Regions from separate parts of the Homo sapiens genome. Here region 2 is linked to region 1. The links are contacts of gene promoters, found by promoter capture Hi-C in blood cells and fetal thymus (Javierre and others, 2016). All regions are on one chromosome and are shown on one strand. The core of a region is centred on a gene start or on the middle of the fragment in contact, and the rest is flanking DNA. Distances in the headings are between cores, read along the strand shown.

Region 1 (6,317 bases), core at 1,962-4,461:
CCCATTGGTGGAATTGGAGTTCTGCTCGCTCTCAGTCTCCATGATAGTGGTCCAGGGTCCCCAAGGCTGGTGCTCTGTCTGACTCAAGACCTAGAGGGAAGCAGTAAAAGGTTAAAATTTATATCTTGATCCCAAGCTGTTATCTCATGTTATTATTCAAAAACACAGGAAATCCATAAGTATCTAAGAATCTTCCTCCTCTTCCATAAGCCATGATTTCTCATCTTAAAACTCCCAAATCTTCAATACACTCTTGCAACCATGTCTTCCCAATACTACCATCTTTTGAAGCTATGCAGTCTCAAAAGAAACAACCTTTACGTATTCCCTCATGGCTGTCATTAAATAAAACGGCCAGAATGTGAGATGGCACCTTACAATACCAAAGTTACCTTACATTCCCATAGCATTTTTTAACAGTTTAAAATCTTTCCACTTAAAAGTTTTGGTTATCTCATTTTTGTCTCCATCTGCATCGTTATCATCCAAATGAGTCACCATATACTGGAGAGCCACTAGTTGCCTCCTTTCACTGGGCTAGGCACTTCACCTATGCTGTATCTCTCTCATAGTAGTGCTGTAAAGTCAACACTGTTATCCTCATTCTACAATTTGAGACATAAGGTTTTCTGAGGTTAAAGAAGTTGCCCTAGTAAGTATCAAGTCTTTGGACTAACACATGCTTCTTCAAACCAAACTGTAATTAAGGCAGTGTCATTCACTATGATAGTGAGTAGTTATCCTCATTTTATGGAGGAGGACCTTAAGATACAGACACATTCAGTGGGTCATGGAAGGTCATAAAACTAGGAAGCAGAAGAGCTCACCTACAGCCCACATAGCCCAAATAGCTGCCTGGTTCCAGCTCAGGCTACTAATAACACCTCAGGCATGTTGCTTTCCTTCCTTATACCTGTTTCCTCACTGCAAAGGAGGCTTCATACTGAATGTAATATATCATTTTAAGAAATGACTCCGGAGTATGAAACATAGAAATACACACAATGAAAATCTTCAAGAAAGTAAGATGCAACTTTATAATCTACTAACATGTCAGAATTTACCCACTGGGGACTACACTTACATTTGCAAAAAGACACATATGAAAACACTGCTAAGAACCAAGCAAAGAGGCAGGAGATGAGAAGAAGAAATATTCTTCCAAAGCAGCACTAAATGACAATAAGGTTTTTACTCATTCTTTTTTTTTGTTTTTCTCTTTTGTTAAGCTACACACTATTTTCTCTACTTCTGAGGCACTGGGCCACTAGAAATATCAGGTCACCAAAATATTATCTGGCTTAAGAATATAAACATCAAACCAGAATTTCTGCTAAGTGTTGTCAACAGTTTCATTAGGGTGAATGGACTGGTCTTAGGGATTGCATCCAAAACAAACAAACAAGCAAAGTATCAAACTGCTTGGCCTTGGCAATAAAGCTGAGGATATTTCTTATTATCTCATTCCCAGTATCATCCAATCACACTATTATCCCCCCCCAGTCTTTAGTTTCATTTAGGACTAGCAAATGTCACTGCAAACATGTATATTACCCAAAAAGTACATAGGAAAAATCATATCAGCTTCAACTAGTCTACCTTCTCCCCACATCTTTTGCCAAAATATCAAAGCACTAAACAGATACAGACCCATGAATCCTCATTATCAGCATGTGAAGAAAAAAAGTGGGTAAGGATTAGAGGCAGCACGGCACAGTTTTATAGATTACTGGATTTAGTTCACTGGACTCAGAGACACGAGACCCCTTTGCTAGGTATAGAGAACATAATTCCTACATTCACATGTGAAAATACAAACCGTATGACCCCTCGTCTTCCCAAACCTGAATTCTGATTAATAATTTTTTTTGGATTGTGAACTAGAAATAAAAATGTAAAGGGACCAACTTAAAAGTCTCAATAAAATCAAGGGAAACTGCCACCAAAACCAGGATTCCTGGATCCCGGGCACATAAATGTATTCATTTGTGATCAACATTATGACTACAAGATTAAATATAAAAAATGGAGACAACAAACAGTTTGGGCAGCACCAGGTATCAAAATTTTCCAAATTAAACTGGAAGACAGTGAGAAGCTGATCCACAGATGCCCCCAGAGTAGCTAAGCCATGGTCATCTTAAAAGGTAGCATGTGGGCATACATGGGGTTGGGTAGGCGCACAGACCTACCGAAGGGAGTTAGAATGGGACATTGAGGTGGACTTAGCATTGGGCCGAGAGTTGGAGAAAGTCAATATCCCTAAGCACGAAACTCTTATCATGCAGAAAGGATGGGACATAGGAAGGGGGACGGGAGAAGGGGGTGGTTCAGGGAAGACTGTGCCAAAGACACGGTAATAATCAAGAGAACAGGGAGTAGACGCCCAAGGGTCCTCGTTCTATATAGAACCTTGATGAAAATGATGTTTCAAAGAGAAATCAAATACACTGGGGGAAGGGGGTGGATCCAGTGGTGCGCCGGGAATGAACTGACCCAAGTGAGCTGGGACATGTGCATACAGAGAGCAGAGGCAGAAGTCAAGGAACTGGAGGCTGAGGAACCCAGCGGACCACGAAAGCAGGGAGATAACTAGACAGCATGCTCGGCTGGAAGGACCAAAGTCAGAGAAGGAAAAATGAATAAGAAAATGAGCAGTCAGAGGCAGCTAGGGTGACGGACAGACAGCATGAAGCGCAGCAGAATGAATAGCCAGAAGACTCGGACAGGCAGAGCCGAAGGACCGCAGAGCTCAGCGCCGGAGGTAGGCAGGGAAAGCAACTGGGGGAGGTACCTGGGGCGTTACACAGATGGAGGTGGCTGAGGATACATCCCCGCGCAGCCAAGCCCCCAGAGGTCCTGCCCCTCCCCGGCCCTCGGTCGCCCGGTTACCTTCTCGCCTGGCTGTGCACCCAAGTCTTCCCCGGGGGCGTCCACCTCATGTGCCGGGGTCCCCAGTCGCCAGGCTGGGCTGGGGGCTCGCTCGGCCTCCGCGGCGGGCTCCCCTCGCCTCCTCCCCTTCCTGGAGGGGCGGGGGCGCCGAGGGCGGGGTGGGAGGCGCCCGGCGCGACCGCGGCTCCCCGCCCCTCCCGCCGCTCCGGGTGCGGGCCCGGCCGCGGCTCAGCCAGGCCTCCGGGGCTCGCTCCGGGCCTGTCACTTCCTGCCCGGCCGAGAAGGTGGGGGCCGCAGGCCAGGGGCTGCGGGCCGGGCTGGAGGAGGGGGCTGCGGGGAGGTGCTTCCGGGGCAGCCGGACCCCCCCCCCGCCGTCCCTCCGCCTCCCCTCGGCGCCCTCCGCCCCCTCCCTCCCGCGCGTCCCTCGTTTCCTGCCGGCGCCCGTTGCCATGGCGACGCAGCTCCCGGGCCTCTGCGCTCCAGGCCCAGGGGTTTTTTCCTCTCTTGCTCTCTTTCTCCTCTTTTTTACCCCCTTCTTTCTCTCCGAGTTCTGCTCGCCGGTTGGAAGGACGAAACTAAGAAAGTGCTGGCCTCTAGTGGGGAACGCACCTCTCGGAGAGGAGAGGGAGATGGGAGAAGGGAGGGAAGTGACGTGAGACGGGGAGAAAGAAGGTATTTTCTGGAGCTGCTGGGAATAAGGGGTAGAAAGAAAGGATCAAAGGGACCAACAGACAGAGAGGGAGAAAGAGCAAAGCAACGACCCCTAGAGAAACGATAGACTGGGAAAAGAAATGAAGCAAAGGAAAGGAAGGAAAAGGCGAGAAAAACTTTGAGAATGAGAGAAAGGAGAGAGAAGGTTGATTGTTTAATCCCTCACCTCAACTCCAAGAAGGCGGGAAAGAATGCTGCAGAAACAGCTAACCCATTAGGAGTTGACTTCATTTTCAAAGCAGCAACCTAATGTAACTTCCTTTGGATAGCATTTAAGTTTGTCATTTCAGGGATTTGTGTGTGCTTCGATTTCAATATGTATATGAGTTCGAATGACAAAAACGGGAAAAGGCCAGAGTATAACGAGATGTAGAACAATGGGGCTGTCTCTGGGAACACTAAACATTTGATAGGGGAGCCGTTGTCGTTGTATTTATGATATCAACTTACCGGTTTTTAATTACTCTCTCATCGTTCAACATTCAATAAATATTTATAGAGCGTCTACTATGTGCTAAACCGTGGAAGCTTGGATTGCATCAGTGCACGAAACAAAGATAACTGCCTTACTGCCTTCATTAACCTTTACAGAAGGGTCTGGGGGATGCCTCGTGGATTAACAACTGGGATTGATGCCTTTTCTCTTGCTCTCAGTCTTTTCCTAACCTCTATCCTAAACAGTTATTTTCTCTGTCAATCCACTCTTCCTTTTCTCCTTTAAAAGCCCATGCATGGTTTGTTTATAGAGAAAAAAACAGAAGTGTTATCTTTGCTTATAAATTATATCCATTTAGATTTTGCTTTGAGAGAGGAGTATTTGGACTCCAAGGTCTTTCATTTGTGGCAGCCAGATTAAAATCGGAGAACAATTTCTGCCAGGCTTCTAGGAACTAGTCAGACAGGTATGTGAGGGAAGAAACCGGAGGGCAGCCAAAGGACTGGAAAAGCGAAGACACGGGGTATGAGGAGGTGAAAGGGTGTGTTACCAGGCCGTGGATGACAGGCACTGGCTGAGGATGATTTGAAAAGATTCTGACTGGTAGAACTAGTGGTGAAAACGAGGTAAAGCATTCGTTGTTTAATTCACACCTGGATTTTTGGCATGTCAAAGCAGTTAAAGCTTTCTTGCAGAAGTTTAGAAATGGATATCGATTGAGCCTAGGCGGAATTTTCTAGCACCAATGGAAAAAAAAAGCATCTATAGATAATTTTCAGATTATACAACATTAAAGTTAAGAAACATGACTCATGTGCTTCCTTAGTTTCCCTGGGAGAATTATCACTGTTAAGTGTCTAAAGAAGATTTGTAAGCTATAACAAGAATAAGGAATGCAGATATCAGAGGGTATGGACTTGTTTTTCTATAGCCTATGGAACTTGTGTACCAAGAGGGTACATGACCATATCGCATTTCACCCTCCTTACAAATGGAGCAGAATTACCGCTACTGCATATAGTTACATTCCACCCCTAAAGATTTTTTTTTTTTATTTACTAGGTCACCGGCTCCTATAGCTACTAGATAATGTTAGGGGATAAGCGATGAATACTTTTGTTGAGTGCCTGTTATAAATTTAGCCTGAGAATAATCTATCATGAGGCGAGCTATACTGATTATGGGCCAGTAGTTTAATTTTTATATGTAAAGGTGTGTGCTCCATATATCACAGGATTCTTTTCAAGTTCATTTTTCTCCAAGTCAGGCCAGTGTTCTAAGGTCATAGGTCTAAACAGTTCCCACCAAAAAAGATTTAGTATAAAAAAGAAATATATCAACAGCAAAGTAAAGTTATAGGAAAGCCTCCATCCATAAGAAAATCATTTTCATAGACTAAATCAGCTTGAGAGCAGGCATTGAAGAACTTATCTCGGTCTAAACAGCAAAACAATCTGTGTTCCCTAGAGAATACTCAACTTTTTTTTCTTAATTTTTCTAAAGTTTCTCATTTTCATTTAATGACTCTGCTTGAATTAGACTTTTCTTTTTCAAACAAAATGGTTCTTCTGAATGGAGGCTACAGAATGTCTTTACTCTGCATAACACTGAAGGCCATTAGCCTAAACAGGTGAGAAGGAAAAGCATTTAATCCGGTGTATGGAAATGGAAGCCCTCCTGCAAACTTCTCTAAATAAGGAAGGATCCTGGTTTGAAAGGCTGTCGATGTTTGGCAGCAACTGAAGCAAATAGACTAGAAGTTAAGCTAATAGAACTTTTCATATCAACTGAACATTGCTTAAGCATTCCTCAAGCTTCTCCTGTAAACCTAGCATTCTGCAATAAATTGTGAAGGAAGAGATGTCCTTTACCCTAAAGGTGTTAGTATCTTTGGAATGTGTCTTTCTACAAGTAATCAAGTAAGAATGTGTGACCATGTTTTTATGCAAATATGGATAGGAAGAAGTAGAGAAAAAAGGAAATCATAACCTTTACTCTCCCCACCACCAACTGTGGCTGTGAACCACCATACACAGCCCACCTGTGTCTCACTATAATTCTGCATGCCACTTTAAGGTCTAGTTGGGAGAAAATGAAGATTGAGTGGATTTATAGGCTCTTAGATATTTAAAGGAAAAAAAAAGAACTTTAAAACTAAGCCCCTCAGTTTTCAGTGAAGACAATTGAAGTCTAAATGATAAATGTAGAAGAGGGATATTTCGTAATCCCTGGAAAATAGAAAATGTCCAATAAATATTAGTTAACTGAATTAATTTCC
Region 2 (6,317 bases), core at 1,419-3,918, 270 kb after region 1:
CGACAAATTCTGGGCAGAACCCAAGATGGAAAAAGCAAATGTTTATATAAATAGAGGTGCAGAGCCCACAGCTTCCTGTTGACAAATCGAACTTCACTTTACCTCAAACCCTCATTTTTTTTTAATAGCTGATAATGATTTGGTGTTATTTTTCAACTTGTCCAATCACTTAGAGTAAGGTTCTAGTTTATTCCTAACCCTTGGGTCTTGCAGTTCTTTTCTCTACCTCTGGTATTTTTCCCTTTCCTCTCCCTTTTCCTTTCTCCTGGGTACTTACCTGGCTATACATCTGTACTGTGTAGCTTTATGGAGTGTTTGGTTAAATTTATGTAACAATCCATAGGTATTCAAGATGATCTCATAAATTTGTGGGAGATCCACCTTGTCTTCCCTCCTCCACCAGACAAACAAACAAACAAAAACCCCAAACCAAACCAGAATAGATAAGTTTTGAGCAAGTATAAGGAAATTCATTTTATGGAAAATAATCTGTATTATATTGAAGAGATTGATGGGTGTTAAGGTATCAACTGCATCACTGTATACCATTTCCTAATATGTGGTTCTGTCCCAAATGATCAAAAACAAGGAGTTATAATGAAGGGTAATGAGAATTGTACAAAGAAACATTTCTTCCATTTGTATAAACCTCTATAAATCCATCTATTCTTGAAAATGGATGAGATTTTAGGGGAATGGGGAATGAAGTAGTAGTAACACAAATAAGCAGGCCAGGCGCGGTGGCTCACACCTGTAATCCCAGCACTTTGGGAAGGTGAGGCAGGCAGATCACCTGAGGTCAGAAGTTTGAAACCAGCCTGGCCAACATGGCGAAACCCCATCTCTACTAGAAACACAAAAATCAGCCGGACGTAGTAGCAGTAATTTCTCTCTTGTCATGTAGAAACTAAAAAAAATTATTACATCATTGATATATGGGATGTCTAGATCCCCAAATCAACATGGTTCTAGGTACAATAAAAGTGACACTTGGCCGGGCGCGGTGGCTCACGCTTGTAATCCCAGCACTTTGGGAGGCCGAGGCGGGTGGATCACGAGGTCAGGAGATCGAGACCACGGTGAAACCCCGTCTCTACTAAAATTAAAAAAAAATTAGCCCGGCGTGGTGGCGGGCGCCTGTAGTCCCAGCTACTCGGAGAGGCTGAGGCAGGAGAACGGCGTGAACCCGGGAGGCGGAGCTTGCAGTGAGCCGAGATGGCGCCACTGCATCCAGCCTGGGTGACAGAGCGAGACTCCGTCTCAAAAAAAAAAAAAAAAAAAAAAAAAGTGACACTTATCCTGTTCATTTTAATTTCAAATAATTGGTCTTTGTTTCAGTGCCAGTCCAGACTTGGCACTCACTAGTGGTATGATGCCAAGCAAGTAGCTTCTCAGCTGTAAATTGGTGGCAACATACCTGCCTTAGGGGTGGTTCTGTGAATTAACAAGATTATGTGTTCAAAGGTTTAGTAAGACTATTAATTAAGACTTATTAACTATTAAGTATTAGCTATTAACTATTAAGTATTATTAACTATTAACTATTAAGTAAGACTTATTAATTAATTAATAAGACTATAGGATTTTTTTTTTTCTACTTAAGCTGATTGGTTTCTGTTAAACTGTTCTTGAGTAGGTTGGCTTTTCCATTCTTTCCCTTGTAACGAAACAGATGAATCTTGCTGGCTAGCCAATGAGTAGGAAACTTGCAAAAAATGTGCAATACCAGAGATACTAGTTTCTCTACTGTTTAAAGTGTGTTTAAATGTACCTTTTTTTTTTCCTCATACAGATGGGGGTCTGGCTATGTTGCCCAGACTAGTCTTGAACTCCCAGCCTCAAGTGATTCTCCCACCTCGGCCTCCCAAAGTGTTGAGATCACAAGAATGAGCCGCTGTTCCTGGTCCTAATTTAAATGTAATTAAAATTTTTTTTTTGGCCAGACTCAGTAGCTCACATCTGTAATCCCAACGCTTTGGGAGACCAAGGCAGGAGTTCAAGACTAGCCTGAGAAACATAGCAAGACTGTCTCTACAGAAAATTAAAATACTAGCCAGGCATGGTAGCTGCCCCTGTAGTCCCAGCTACTGGGTATGCTGAGGCAGGAGGATTGCTTGAGCCCACGAGGCCGAGGTTACAGTGAGCTATGATGGTATCACTGTACAACAGCCTGGGTGACAGAGTGAGATCCTGTCTGTAAAACAATTTTTTAAAAGTAAAACTTTTTTAAAAGTGGAATTATTCCAAATGTGGTCTTTGGAACTCTAGGACAGCATTGTTATGGTTTGAATGTTTGTCCCCTCCCAAACTCATGTTGAGTTTTAATTGATGTGGGGTCTTTAAGAGGTGATTAGGGGTCGGGCATGCTATAATCCCAGCACTTTGGGAGGCCGAGGCAGGGGGATAATCTGAGGTCAGGAGTTCGAGACCAATCTGGCCAACATGGCGAAACCCTGTCTCTACTAAAAATACAAAAAATTAGCCAGGCGTAGGGGTGGGTGCCTATATTCCAGCTACTTGGGAGGCTGAGGCAGGAGAATCGCTTGAACCCAGGAGGTGGAGGCTGCAGTGAGTCACGATTGTGCCATTGCACTCCACCCTGGGCAACAAGAGCGAAACTCTATCTTAAAAAAAAGAAGAAGAAATGATTAGGGCCGGGAGCAGTGGCTCACATCTGTAATCTCGACACTTTGGGAGGCTGAGGCAGGAAGATCACTTGAGGTAAGGAGTTCAAGACCAGCCAACTCCAGCCAATATGGTGAAACCCCGTCTCTCCTGAAAATACAAAAATTAGCTAGGTGTGGTGGTGGATGCCTGTAATCCCAGCTACTCAGGAGGCTGAGCCATGAGAATTGCTTGAACCTGGGAGGCGGAGCTTGCAGTGAGCCGAGATCGCACCACTGTACTCCAGCCTGGGTGACAGAGCAAGACTCCATCTCAAAAAAAAAAAAAAAAGAAAAGAAAAGAAAAGAGGTGATTAGGTGATGGCAAATCGATCATAAATGGATTACTGCTGCTGTTATTGCAGGGGTAGGTTAGTTATCACGAGACTGGGTTTATAATAAAAGGGAGTTTTGCCCGATTTCTTCTCTCTGCCTCACCAGTTTGCTTGCACTTGCTGTCCTTCCACCATGGGATGACTCTCATCAGATGATGGCACCATGTTCTTGGACTTCTCAGCCTCCAGAACTGTGAGAAATAAATTTCTTTTCTTTATAAATTACTCAGTTGGTGACAGACTCAATAACACAAAATAGACTAAAACAACAACAACAACAACAACTTTTTAATAAAGTGTTCTGTGCTTTTTTTTTAAACAAACATCATATTCCCTGTGTGGTGGGAAGCAGAAGTATTATTATTCATATTTTTCAGACAGAGAAAAAGGTTTAATAAGACCTGACCAAGTTCACACAGTTTTGGTGCGGCAGACCCACGCCTGAATTCTAAAACTCTAAAACTTCTCAAAGGTCTAAAAGTTCTAAAAGTTAATCCAGTTGCAAAAGGAAGACTCCAAGACAAAGGAGTAGTTTACTTGCTTGCCAAAGGCTTGTTTGGGAGGCTACACCTTAGAAAAACTGGAATAAAAAATACAACCTACTGAAAGAGAAACAAATTAGATTCCTAAAGTCACTAGACTTACTGTTTATCTGTTCGTGGTGGGATTTTTTATTTTTTATTTTTTATTTTTTTGAGACAGAGTCTTACTCTGTGGCCCAGGCTGGGGTGCAGTGGTGTGATCTTGGCTTAGTGCAACCTCCGCCTCCCAGGTTCAAGGGATTCTTACGCTTCAGCCTCCTGAATAGCTGGGATTACAGGCATGCACCGCCACGCCCAGCTCATTGTTTTTGTATTTTGGGGTTTCGTTATTTTGGCCAGGCTGATCTCGAACTCCTGGCCTCAAGTGATCCTCCTGCCTTGGCCTCCCAAAGTGCTAGGATTACAGGCATAAGCCACCACAACCTGTCCGATTTTTTTTTTTTTGTATATGGTTCTCATATCCTCAAAGATTATTACCCACCTTCAGAGATTGCCATTGGCAAAGTCAGAGTGCAGTTGTTTGCATGACAGAGTCAGTAACTTATGGAGGAGACTTGAAGATTTTATTTATTTTGGAAACTAGAACTAGAGGCTATGGCCCTGCTTGTTTTCTTGCTTACCTCAAGGTGTAGAATGCTTTCATGTCCACTGGATGTGAAGTGCTCTCTTATTCAGAACTGAGGCAGAGAAACTTAGTGTGGTGGTTCCTGCCTATAATCCCAGCTACTCCACAGGCTGAAGCAGGAAGACTCCTTGAGCCCAGGAGTTCAAGGCCACCCTGGGCAACAAAAGGTGTGAGAGCCTTGTCTCACAAGCAAACAAACACAAAAACAAACAAGTTGAGTCAGAGCACAGGTGTCTCTTTTGTTTTCACACATCACATACACTCCCCAGGAATTCTGTGGAGACTCAGCCAGTGGCTGTTAGCTATGAATCTGGCCAGAAACAAGAACCTGGAAAAGGCCAAAGAGGTTCCGATTTTTCCTCTTCTCGGAAGGGTAGAGAATCAGTGTGTTTACTGGCTCATCAGTCTTTCTCTTTATCCTGATTTCTTTGACTGACTCCTTCAGGAAGGATAGCCTATGTGTCAGAGCACATACTCTGGAGCTAGACTATATGGGTGCAAATCCTGACTCCACCTCTTCTACGGGGAGGAGGCCTATGCAAACCTACCCCCAAAGGCTGAGGGAGCTGAAAGGCCAGATAAAGAGGCAGACATGCCCAGTTTCTCAGCAAAAAAAACATTTAATAAGAACTTAAAAGCAGAAGCCATGTCCCAGGCATCTGCAAGATGGTGGATCCCCTTGCTGTTACCCCAACCCAGACCCAGGGCTTACATACCATAGGGAAAGGGCATCCGTGCTTCAGAAGGGTTGTGTAGGACAATTGAAGGCCACCCCTCAGGGAAAGGCAAGAATGCTACCTGAATCATAGCCTATAATTTGCTTAAGGGCAGGATTCATAGTAAGTGCCTGTTTATGATAACATCAAGGTTGTTTTAATCTAGGGGCTAGACTTATGGTAAATATGTGTTCTTAACAGTAGATAAAGTAGAGATCTTAGAGGTATTACTGGAACTGGGGGTTAATCAGAAGTCAACGTGGTGTTTTAGCAGCCAAGATGGAGTTACTTTAGCCTCCGCCCCACCATTATGATTCAAACCATTCTATGCCTCACTTTTCTCATCTGTAAAAGAGATCAGTGATACAAAACCCTTAAGGCTACTGCGAGATTAAATGAATTAAGTGGTTTAGGGTAGCACCGGCACATAGGCCCTATGTAAATGTGAGTGAGTCATTATCCTTTAGTCAACAAACAACTTTTGAACACCAAGTGCCCAGGGCAGTGCTGGGATGCAAAGTTAACTAAGACATGGCCTCTGCATTTGAAGATTAAATTAGAGTCACTTCTTTTTTTTTTTTGAGATGCTGTGTCACCCAGGCTGGAGTGCAATGGCACAATCACAGCTCACTGCAACCTCTGCCTCCCGGGTTCAAGCAGTTCTCCTGCCTCAGCCTCCTGAGTAGCTGGGATTACAGGCGTGCACCACCACGCCCGGCTAATTTTTGTATTTTTAGTAGAGACGGGGTTTCACCGTGTTGGTCAGGCTGGTCTTGAAATCCTGACCTCATGATCCTCCCGCCTCAGCCTCCCACAGTGCTGGGATTACAGGCGTGAGCCACCGCGGCCGGCCTAGAGTCACTTTATTGCTCAAGTTGTTTCTTTCTGCTTTTAATAACACCTTTTGCCTCCTACAATGACATTCATTGTCTTGTTTTCTTTTCAGGTTTTTATCATTTTTGATAATAAAAAATAAAGTAATGCTTTAAATTATACTATAAATTTATCATGCTCCTGTTCAGGGAAGGCATACATCTGCTCACTGCCTTTAGTTCTCCTCTACACATCTGCTGCCTAGTTTTGGCCAAGTGAACTTTCCACTGATATCCTGGGCTCTTTCCTCCCATTCCCATATCTGTTCTTTCTTCTCCTCAGTCCCAGAGCACTTATCATTTCTGCACCCCTTATTTATGGACTTTCTCCTCTGATTGTACAAACTAATAGCATCCCTAAAGAGAGAATAGCCCAGTCATTGCTTGTTTCTTTTTTCTGGCTATTCAGTCCCTAGAAGTCTCTGAGTTTAATCAGTTTTTTTTTTTCTTCTGGGGAAAGAGCTTTAATATCCTGGTACACCATGGTGAGCAGAAGCCCAGGCAAAGCATCTACACAGGCAGGTGTGTGTGGTTTTGAGCCCACCAGGTCCCACTTTGTCTCAT

What was found. The method cuts DNA at HindIII sites, captures the fragments that hold promoters and counts their contacts. A CHiCAGO score of 5 or more calls a contact.
Region 2: a fragment that was not itself captured here is called in contact with the fragment with the promoter of PHC1 in region 1 in 2 of 17 cell types (naive CD8 T cells and fetal thymus); the score reaches 5.6 in naive CD8 T cells.

The regions. Positions count from the first base shown.
Region 1 is chr12:8,911,403-8,917,719 of GRCh38, reverse strand. It overlaps PHC1 (polyhomeotic homolog 1), which reads right to left and starts at 3,211. Exons shown (of 15, transcript NM_004426.3): 1 at 2,893-3,211; 2 at 1-90. The coding sequence starts at 42. RefSeq lists silencers at 2,760-3,049, 3,120-3,169, 3,220-3,329 and an enhancer at 5,526-6,078. The HindIII fragment of the contact is 8,234 bases long and covers 1-4,133 here.
Region 2 is chr12:8,638,152-8,644,468 of GRCh38, reverse strand. It overlaps the pseudogene HADHAP2. Among named protein-coding and RNA genes, the nearest start is that of MFAP5, 22 kb to the left of the region's middle. RefSeq lists enhancers at 4,379-5,295, 5,503-6,310. The HindIII fragment of the contact is 9,502 bases long and covers 1-6,317 here.